Linked DNA regions of Homo sapiens: region 1 is linked to region 2. Evidence: promoter capture Hi-C in 16 types of primary human blood cells and fetal thymus (Javierre and others, 2016). All regions are on one chromosome and are shown on one strand. The core of a region is centred on a gene start or on the middle of the fragment in contact, and the rest is flanking DNA. Distances in the headings are between cores, read along the strand shown. Region 1 overlaps PLA2G4A (phospholipase A2 group IVA). Region 2 holds the start of PLA2G4A (phospholipase A2 group IVA).

Region 1 (5,150 bases), core at 2,475-4,974, 110 kb before region 2:
TTCCCATAAAAAATTTGCTTCCAAATAAGTCGGGAGCCATAAAAGTACCATATTTAGCCATGCCAATTTCGTATGGACTAAATTCAACCCAATCTGAAAGTATTTTAAAAACAAGGCAATCCATTAATAGGAAAATGCTATGGCATGGTGTGCACAATTAATGATCACTTTAATAATGTTATGCTTATTCTCATTCATGTATTTAAAATATCAAAATGAAAACATTAGCCAAATGCCCATTATGTATATGACATTGTGTAGAAGTTGGGGGAAAAACGCTTAGAGGTGAATAAGACAAGACGATACAAAAAGATCCCTTCTAATTTGCAGAAATTAGATGCACTTTTCTATTTAAAAACTCAGATGTCTTTTTGAAGCCAGTTTTCATTCTACAGAACAGGAAACTGAAAACTGCTAACTAGATATAAATTTCATGGAGCATACAGAATAAATTAAACTCTTCTAAGCAATTCAAACAGTTTATTAAAATGAAATAAAATGTTTTCTAACATTTATCTTTTCTTCACCTTCACTTCAATTTTGCTCACTAACTGTCTATTCTAACTCCACAAGATTGCAATACAAAGTTTTTAGGTTGAATGCCTTAGAAAAACATGGTAATAGTGCCAGAGATGTATACTGTCTAAGCGCGGGGGCTCTGGAGCTGGACTGTCTGGGATCAAATCCTATTTTGCTGCTTATGAGCTGTGCTTACTGACTTGGGTATTATTCTCTCTGTCTTAGGTCCCTAATCTATAAAATGTGAATAAAATCACATATCACAAGTAGATAGTGTGTAGGATTGTTTTGAAGATCCACTGAGTTAAGAAATGTAAGGAGCTTAGAAGAGGACATAGCACATTTTAATTGCTCAATAAATAGTAGCCACTTTATGTTTCATGTATTCCCATGGCTACGACTATGTCTAATTATCATCTGCATCTTGATGTCTTCAGCAAGAACTCCTGGTTTCTGATTCCCATTTTCTACATTTGCAACTCCTTCATTCTTCTTCTTGTTGGTAAATGGTACTATATTATTCATGCCACTACTCACTTCAGGATTACCCTTGATGGTTCTCTTTTCCCTTATAGCTTACACAGGAAAAATCAAGTGCTGTAGGCTCTATCACGAGGTATGTTTAGAACCTGGTCACTTATCCATTTGTCCACTGTGATCGTACTGATACAAATTGCTGTATTCTCTCTCCTGGACCTCCACAATAACCTCCTAAAATGCTTCTACTCTGTTCACTTATTATCTTTTTGATATCCCATAGCCAGAATAAATCTTTAAAAATATAAATCACAGCACACCAGTGTCATCTGAAAGCTTCCCATTACACTGAAAATAAAAACAGGGCCGACAAGTTTCCGTCCTGGCCTAGATCCCACTCCCTGTGTGATGTGACCACATCCCTCCTAACAATGTTCTATCACATTTTGTCTTGCGTATCCCACTTCACTTCAGCCACACGGCACAGATCTTCTTGCTGTTCCTCAAAGAAGTCAAGTTCATTCCCACTTCAGCACCTTACACTTGCTATTCCCTTCTGCAGTTATAATGCTTGCTCCTACTTAATCTTTATTTTAGGGTCTTTGCTGATGGTCCATTTTAAAATCCCAACATCATCCACCCCTGCCCAACTCATAATTCTCTAACCCACTTCATTTTTTTTTCTAGCTTTTCTCTTTCTGAAATTATAATATGTCTGTAATATCTTATCCAACAATACAAAATCCAAACAATTCAAAAATTCATAAGCTTCTTTGTTACTCATTTGTTTGTAAAATCTAATCTGAATTCATTTAGTGAGAAATCAGGCTTGAATGTTAGTGGGGGCTCTTATAATTCATTTATCCCACTCAATGTGGATATTTATATATCCTATTGGAGAAATATCACTGATTATAAGAACCCAATGGGGTATTAGGTAATACACAATATGAGTATCTTTATATCTCCAAAATCCAAACATTTTGAATTCTAAAACACATGTCACCAAAGGTTTGGAAAAGGAATTGTGGATCTATATTTATTGTTTGTTCAATGGTAGGTCACAACACCTTCCTTTCATGAAGGAAGTGATGAAATCACAATTTTGATAACATTGTAATTCATTATATGTCAAAGCCAAATGGTACATATATTCTTCATCAGAAAGTGGTGTGATTTACAACGATTTACGTGGAATTTGTGAGACATAACTAGCAATGAATCAGAGGCTGTTAGGAAAATTCCTGTATTCATACAAGTAATTTCCTATCTCTCAATTTCACAACCCTATCATGGGAACTGAGGCATAACAACTTCCTGGTTCCTGCTTTTCTAGCGATCTCTTCTTGATTAGCGCCATGGCCTGGGCACATAGTAACTTAGGCATTCTCAAAAGCTAAAATGAGCTCTGCACCCCTCACTGAAGAACTCACGGTGTTAGTTTTCAACTAATTCTCTCCTGCTGGTGACTCTACCTTTTGACTCCAACCTCTCTCCTGCGCTTCCATGTACTTTCAACTTCCTTTGGGGCCCTTACACTCAGATATTCTGTCATCTCCTCCCACTATACTTACCTAGATAAGAACTCATCACCCTTCTTCCCGGGCCAGCTTACCTATTTCAGTAAACCATGCTATCACTCTATCAAATCCATCATTGCATCACACCGATAACCTTTAGGCCTCTCATATCCATCTATTCTTTTCTTATCAGTATGTCCCTAGTTCCAGGGCCTTATCACAAAAGCACAGTGATATCTCTGCTTCCAGTTTCATTCCTTTCCATTCTGTTTTTATTGGTCACCAAAGTGACTTTTTCAAAAACACTACATAAATAATTTTATTGCCCTGCACAAAAGCATTAACTATTTCCATTATCATCAAAATCAAATAAAAATATTTCTGTCTGGAATTAAAATCATTCCATAACTTGGGACTATTGGTGCCTCCAAATACAACACCTTTTCTTCACCAATGTGTGCATAAGTCCTAGACTAGTTGTTTTTTTTAATAGTGATGCCCAAAACATAACTCTGGCTTCCCTTCTGAGCATTTTCTCATATTGTTTCCACACAAAGGTATCTTTTTACCCGTACTTGATAGATCCTTCTACATTCGACTTAAATCCAAGTTTCATCACCCTTTCTTACAACTATACTAAATCTCTATGACATCTCACCCTTATGTCAGGTCTACACACTTATGTCAGGTCTAGGTATATTATAGGAATTTTTCCATGCTTTATTTTTGTCTCTTTCAATAGGATTATAACTTTCTTGAGGAAAAATACTATATTTGTACTTCTAAAGTGTCTGTCAAAAAATTTAGCATGATGCTAAGTTCATAACCATAAGTTGTAATCCATAAATGCAGTTTATTCACCAGTGGAAATTTTTAAATGAACGTTTTAAGTCCTTTCAGCAATGTGATGTAGTGGAGGAGTCAGGAATTTCTAACAGTTTAAACACCAATGTTTATTTGTTGAAAATTTCCAAGAAATTTCTAAATGAAAGGTGTGTTTAAAATTATTCCAAGAGGAAGGGAAAATATTATCCGGTATTGTTGAAGTAAAATTGTTAATAAAGCTTCTGTAAGCTAATTTGATTATTTGACTTTTAAAAATATAATTCAGAGACTATCTCAACTTTTTCTTCTACACAGCCACTTTCAATCTAAGCATATATTGGAAGAATAAATTACAGACGTGTCTCTATTCTTTTTTTCCCAGTAACTCAAGTAAAGCTACTTGAACACTCAAGACATGTACCTTAAGATGTCTTATCTGGGTACAAGATTCATATAATTAATGTTTAATGATTTTGTCTAAATCTGTTGGAAGACACAGCTCAACCCGCCTTATGACAGAAGCTTAACAATGAAGGTTAATGATGCACCACTCATCTCAGTAGCAGTACTGCAGTGAAGCAGATGTCAAAAGAAGACACATCCAGGTCCAAAGACTACTAACTGAATATAAAACAGCATTTTTTCAGTCTAAAAGAACCCAGAATATCCACTCACCCAAATATTATTTATTCTTTAATTATTTTAGTTAAGTTTTCTTGGAAAATGGCTATTGACTAAAAATTCAGAATAAAATATAACCACCGTGAAAAGTCCAGAACAATCATGACAATAAAAACAAACTTTTATATTTGTATGCCTCTTTATAGTTTTCAGTCTCATCTTATGCATATTTCATATTATTGCCTTAATAGCTCTGGAAGATAAATCTTAGGGTTAATATATTTTTTAAAATAAGGAGGAAAATAAGAATCAGAGATTACATGACTAGCCTGAGGTATTCAGCTTAGAAGTATTGTAAGACAAGGCTTTTAAATTAGAATGTAGTGTTCTTTTGACCATGTAATTCTTTCTGGGTGAAGGATGATTTATTTGGCCATGCAAAAATCTGACTAGCATGCAAGTGTTATAGATCAAACAATTCCAAAAATTTCAAAGCTCCACAAGATAATAGCTATGGCTGGGGGGAAGCAATTTCATTATGGCGCTTACTTTTCTATGTAATAAAGTCTCAACTCTCTACTATGAACCCCATTATAGCCCAAGATGTGTGGTTCCTTGTTGCCATTGAGCACACCTGAGTTATCCCTGACCCTGCTACATGCCCCCTTCCACAATCCAATAATTAAATGTGCCTTTCATATTCAAATCCTATTAATCTTTAAGATCTAGACCTCTGACTTTTCTTATACAGCTTTCACAGAACATTCTAAATTGTTAAAATGTACTGGAAACTTATTATTAGGGCCTGCCATTGTTTACATACTTTGTCTCATTTTTTGGCAAAACATTGTGAGAAGTCTCATCTTCACTTAACAGATGAGAAAACTGGGTCTAACGTAGATTATATAACTTGGTCAAAATGACAGTGTATAGTAACAGTTCTGTACTCTCTTGTGCCTTAACTTCTTTAATAATTATTGTAAATTTTCCAAACAGACTATAAGGTCTTATAGGGTAGGGACAATATATTGTGGTGAGGAAAGAGGAATTCATCCTTAGCGCCCGGCAGACTGCTGCAATCTATATAGACGGTAATCACTATGTACACATCAGAAGTTAGTATGGTAAAATAAAAAGAACAAAGGATTTTTGAAACCAATTTCAGCACTGCTAATTACGTTCTAAGCA
Region 2 (5,183 bases), core at 1,305-3,804:
TACTGCATTCGGCAATAAAAGCAACAGATGTTACAGAAAAATGTCAAGCGTAATATTGTACAGTTAATTATTATTGGGGTTGAGTCTAGAACCTAGGTCACCTGGTTTCAGGCAAGCAGTTTTTTCCATTATACCAAGTTGCTTGGAGTTCTAGAATACCAATGAATAAATGACTATGTGGGTGCTACAATATCCACTGTTAGTTCCTTACTTATAAGTAAAATGATTTTATAATTAATCATTTTATATTATCAGAAAACTCCAAAGTTTTAAGAAATACTGCATTTTCATGTAATATGAATTGTCTTTGGGGATTTGTGAACTTCTTAAAGGTGTTTTTAAATTTGTGTGTGTTGGAATGGCATAATGTGCATTATTCTAGGGAGGGGTCCATACCTGTCACAAGATTATAAAAGTGTCTTTGATGGAACAAAAACAAAAGAAAGAAAAAGAAAAGAAAGAAAAAGTAAGAAAGAAAGAAAAAGAAAGAAAGAAAGAAAGAAAGAAAGAAAGAAAGAAAGAAAGAAAGAAAGAAAGAAAGAAAGCAAGCAAGCAAGCAAGCAAGCTATACAATCTGGAGCAAGAAGGAGGAAAAAACTGATGGTAAATAAAAGCAAACAAGATGAATGGGAACCACAACTAATTCTGTCTTCCTCTTTTTTATTCCTGGAACATAATTTTAATATGTAGATGATTCGATTTTATGACTGCTTTCTAAGTACCAGCACTAGAAAAGATAATGGGTTAAAAACATAAGCCAAATAACCTCTATGGAATGAACATTTTCAGTTGCTAAAAATCTATTTAATAATTTTTCTTTTCCTAATTAAATGTAAATGCAAAAATGCAAAACACTTCAGAATAACTTACTTTTTTTTTTTTTTTTTTTTTTTTGAGACAGAGCTTCGCTGTTTTCGCTCAGGCAGGAGTGCAATGGCGCGATCTTGGCTCACTGCAACCTCCACCTCCTGGGTTCAAGCGATTCTCATGCCTCAGCCTCCCAAGTAGCTGGGATTACAGGCACCTGCCACCACGTCCGGCTAGTTTTTCTATTTTTAGTAGAGATGGGGTTTCACCACGTTGGCCAGGCTGGTCTCGAACTCCTGCCCTCAAGTGATCCACCCGCCTCGGCCTCCCAAAGTGCTGGTATTACGGGCATGAGCCACTGCGCCCAGCCAGAATAACTTACTTTTTAAAAATATGTTAAAAAGATGCAATGTCTTATCTCAAAAAATATGCTTCCCCTAAGGGAAGTTTGTAAAACTCCTTTGAGCAAATGCACATTAAACACTTCTCTATGCATTTCACAATTATTGCTTAATTTAAAATTTAACTCTTCCGGAGCTAATGAAAGAAGTAAATACCTGTTTCTTATCCCAACCTCTAACTTGATTGGCAAGGTGTAGGAACCTGTAGAATGTAACTTTAAAATTCTTAACAGAGCTTGTTTCACTACAGTCCTCTACAAATATCCCTTGAGCCACAATTCTAAATTTAAACAACAAAGAGAAACAAAAATACAAATCTTCTTTGAACTCAAATTATATTGGCAAATATAACTTTAGAATTGACACCCATTCAGACAGTACGCCTCTAATACTCTCCATCTGCCTTAGCTGAATAAATGCTGACATCATCAACCCATATGAGGAGTATTTCTTGTTCTGGTTTTGGAGGTGAATTTATTTTTAAGACTAAAATGATTATAAATTGTAGGAGACAGATACATTCATCCACTGATACTTTAAAATCAAATACCTTTTTTTTCTGTTTTTTTTGGAAACAAAATTACTGAAATATCCACACTCAAAATTTAACTATGTAATTTGATCAAATCTTTTCTAGTATCTAGTTTTGAGATTTTTTTTTTCTCTTGGCAAGCCAAGTAACTTAGGGGAAGGGTGGATCATCAGAACACCAGTCCGTTTACAGTTAATTTTTCAATAATCCTCTTTCTTTCGCATAATTCTGCAAAATATTGACTAGCCAGGAAAGCGTCCCATAAGTAACAAAAATGACCAATTTTTAGAAATTAAAAGTTAAGTGAGTCAACAAAGTCTCTCGCTAAAGATCGCTAGGGCTGTCAAACAGCACAGCATGCTGCTGCTCAAGTTTGGGGATCAGTAACCATTGGGTGTCATCACGTGGAACGCTAATAAGCGCCACCTCACCGCCGTTTTGAATGCTAACTTTCTGGGATTCCAACCCAAAGAAACACCTTAATCTTTGACTCCACAGTGCATTTAGATCCAGGAAGGCAAATCTGCGTGGGTTTGAAGAAAATTGAGGTCCCTAATCTGTGTTTCACTTCAAAAGGCAGAGGACATGCTGACTTTTTAAAGCAGCGAGGTTTCCCCTCCGTCCTTTCTTCCTTCCAAGTAAACTACCAAGTAAAAGCTAAGGAGGGTGGGAGAGAGAAGTGGAGCAGAGGAAGAATAAATATATTGCTTACAGTTCCCAGAGTTACCTGAGAATCTTCAGGCTCCTCAATGCCTCTAGCTTTCAGTCAGGATCCTTTTTCAGCTCCGGACTTAGAGAAAGTCTTATCCTGAGTAGGAGGGGCTAAAATGTGGGCTGGTCTCCTTGCGCTTTTGCAGATGTTTTAAGGTGGAATTAAAGGGGAAGAGGGAGAACGCTCTCTTCTCATAGAAGCTAATATTGTAAATGTAAATGCTTAGTTATTAGAACCAGGAGTTTGAAGTCAGAAAATATGCTTAAATAATATGTAAATTAATCAGTCCTAAATTCCATGAGTGCTGTTGTGGATTTCTGTGTGTGTGATGTGTGTGTGTGTGTGTGTGTGTGTGCGTGCGCGCGTCTGAAATTGCTACTTGTCCTTAAGTAGTAACTACTTCCTCCTTTTTTCCAAAGGAGAACAAAATTGAAAAGACAGTGAATAACCTAGAGCATTTTTGCATTATTTAAAAAGGCAAAGTTTATAACAAACCCCAAATATAAAAATGTACATTTTTAAAAAATGAGTATCAGACCACTTTAAAAATCAAATCTGTTTAAATATTTCCACTCCAGACTCAGAACACCTGTGTTGATAATAATTTCTTTGTAAATTTAAGATTAAAGGCATACCAAATAATGTAATATATATGTTGAGATTTAGGGAAGAAAATGAAATCAGGTTGAATTCCAAATTTGCAGTGTAAATCCAAATACCTTATAGCACTGTAATGAAGAAGGTGCATTGTTTAAATGTACCCAAATTCCATGAGAATCAATTCATGTCTTTAAAGATTGACATGTTCATTTAGTATATCTTGTTTTTCAAACACAGGATCTTGTTTTTGCCTTTAATTAAATACTGAACTCACTCTCCTAACTCTCTTACAATATTTTCAAAGAATATAATTTCACTAAATCTTCTGGAATATCTGCTTTCTGTAGCCCAACATTCAACTCTTATTTGTTTTTATTTTTTTCCCCTAAATTCAACCTGGCATATTATAAATCTCTCTTTGAAAAAAAAAAAAGCCAGTAATGTCTTTTTTAGGAAGGATAGATTTATAATAAACATTTTTCGGGCTGGGCACGGTGGCTCACGCCTGTAATCCCAGCACTTTGGGAGGCCAAGGCGGGCGGATCACGAGGTCAGGAGATCGAGACTATCCTGGCTAACACGGTGAAACCCCCGTCTCTACTAAAAATACAAAAAATTAGCCGGGTGTGGTGGCGGGCGCCTGTAGTCCCAGCTACTTGGGAGGCTGAGGCAGGAGAATGGCGTGAACCCGGGAGGCAGAGCTTGCAGTGAGCCAAGATTGCGCCATTGCACTCCCGCCTGGGCCACAGAGCGAGACTCCGTCTCAAAAAAAAAAAAAAAAAAAAAAAAAAAAAAAAAAAAAAAAAAAAAAAAAAATTTCTCTTTCCAAAGAAATCCCTGAATTTCTAGAAAGGAGGTGTATGTTAATTAGAGGAGCAGAGAGCACACTGGTAGTTTTCATCTCTTTCCCCCAGACACAACTGGTGAAAGAAAGAATCTATACTGCAGGGCATGTTCGTTCTAAGACTCTGATAAAAAAGACTCCCTGGAAAAGCAGCTTCACAGTGCTTGCTTATAGAGCACAAAAAAAGTGCTCTAGTGCTTTTTTGATAACAAAAAGTTATAGCTCTCAATATTTCCAGATGATATCCAATAGTGTGTCATGCATTAAAGATAAAAAATTTATTTAAACGCTTTTAAAGAAAATGTCATTATATGTCATGGTTAGGGTTAATATATACGGGGAGAAGTTTGTCTCTTTCCCGCCTTACTAAATGAAGCTGATTTATCTCCACCTTTATAATGAATAAAGGCTGCTGCAGGTATGTCTTTTCCTCTCTGGAATCAGTGCAGACCAAATCCCATTTACCCATTTTGTGGTTCTATGGCCTCCTTATCTCATCTATTTTGGCTCACTACTTGTGATCTCACTGTTCACATAGACCCCTAGGTGGATAGTACAAGTTCAGATTTGCCGTCTTCACTTTGCCCAATTTCCTCCAAAAATATTTTCAGCATTGACCTACTGACTTCAAAAACCTCTGCTTCCACCTTAGGTAAGATAGGCCCTGACTTCCATAGCGTGCTTCAGTCTATAGGATCAATTATGTCTGAAGACCCCTCTCCACTTGGTTTGTCCATCAACAAAGATTAGTCATCTGGGACCCATCTGAAACTGAGAAATATCATAGCAGCTTCTTTGAATCCAATTCTACCATTTGCACTATTTCCAGCTAATAAGTTTCATGCAGTTTGCTAGTAATTTTCCACATCTTTAAAATTTTAGAAAGAGAATAATAAGCTAAGAACTAGATAAGTAATCAAAAGGAACAACCCCAAAACTGGCCAAATTAACTAACAAAGAACACCTACTTGTCAAAAGCCATGGCTCAAAAACCCCAGGGGGTTGGGAGGGGGAACCCTGATGTTTGTATGATTGATTTTTCTTTCTTTCTTTTTTTTAATTTTACTTTAAGTTCTAGGGTACATGTGCACAACGTGCAGGTTTGTTACATAGGTATACATGTGCCATGCTGGTTTACTGCACCCATTAACTCGTCATTTACATTAGGTATTTCTCCTGATGCTATCCCTCCCCCTGCCCCTCATCCCACGACAGGCCCCCGTGTGTGATGTTCCCCGCCCTGTGTCCAAGTGTTCTCATTGTTCAATTACCACCTATGAGTGAGAA

Evidence for each region. The method cuts DNA at HindIII sites, captures the fragments that hold promoters and counts their contacts. A CHiCAGO score of 5 or more calls a contact.
Region 1: a contact is called between a fragment that was not itself captured here and the fragment with the promoter of PLA2G4A in region 2, in 1 of 17 cell types (monocytes). The highest score is 5.6, in monocytes.

The regions. Positions count from the first base shown.
Region 1 is chr1:186,941,580-186,946,729 of GRCh38, reverse strand. PLA2G4A (phospholipase A2 group IVA) reads right to left here. Exons shown (of 18, transcript NM_024420.3): 11 at 1-93. Among named protein-coding and RNA genes, the nearest start is that of PLA2G4A, 120 kb to the right of the region's middle. The HindIII fragment of the contact is 283 bases long and covers 3,583-3,865 here.
Region 2 is chr1:186,826,320-186,831,502 of GRCh38, reverse strand. PLA2G4A (phospholipase A2 group IVA) reads right to left here and starts at 2,554. Exons shown (of 18, transcript NM_024420.3): 1 at 2,468-2,554. The HindIII fragment of the contact is 13,801 bases long and covers 1-5,183 here.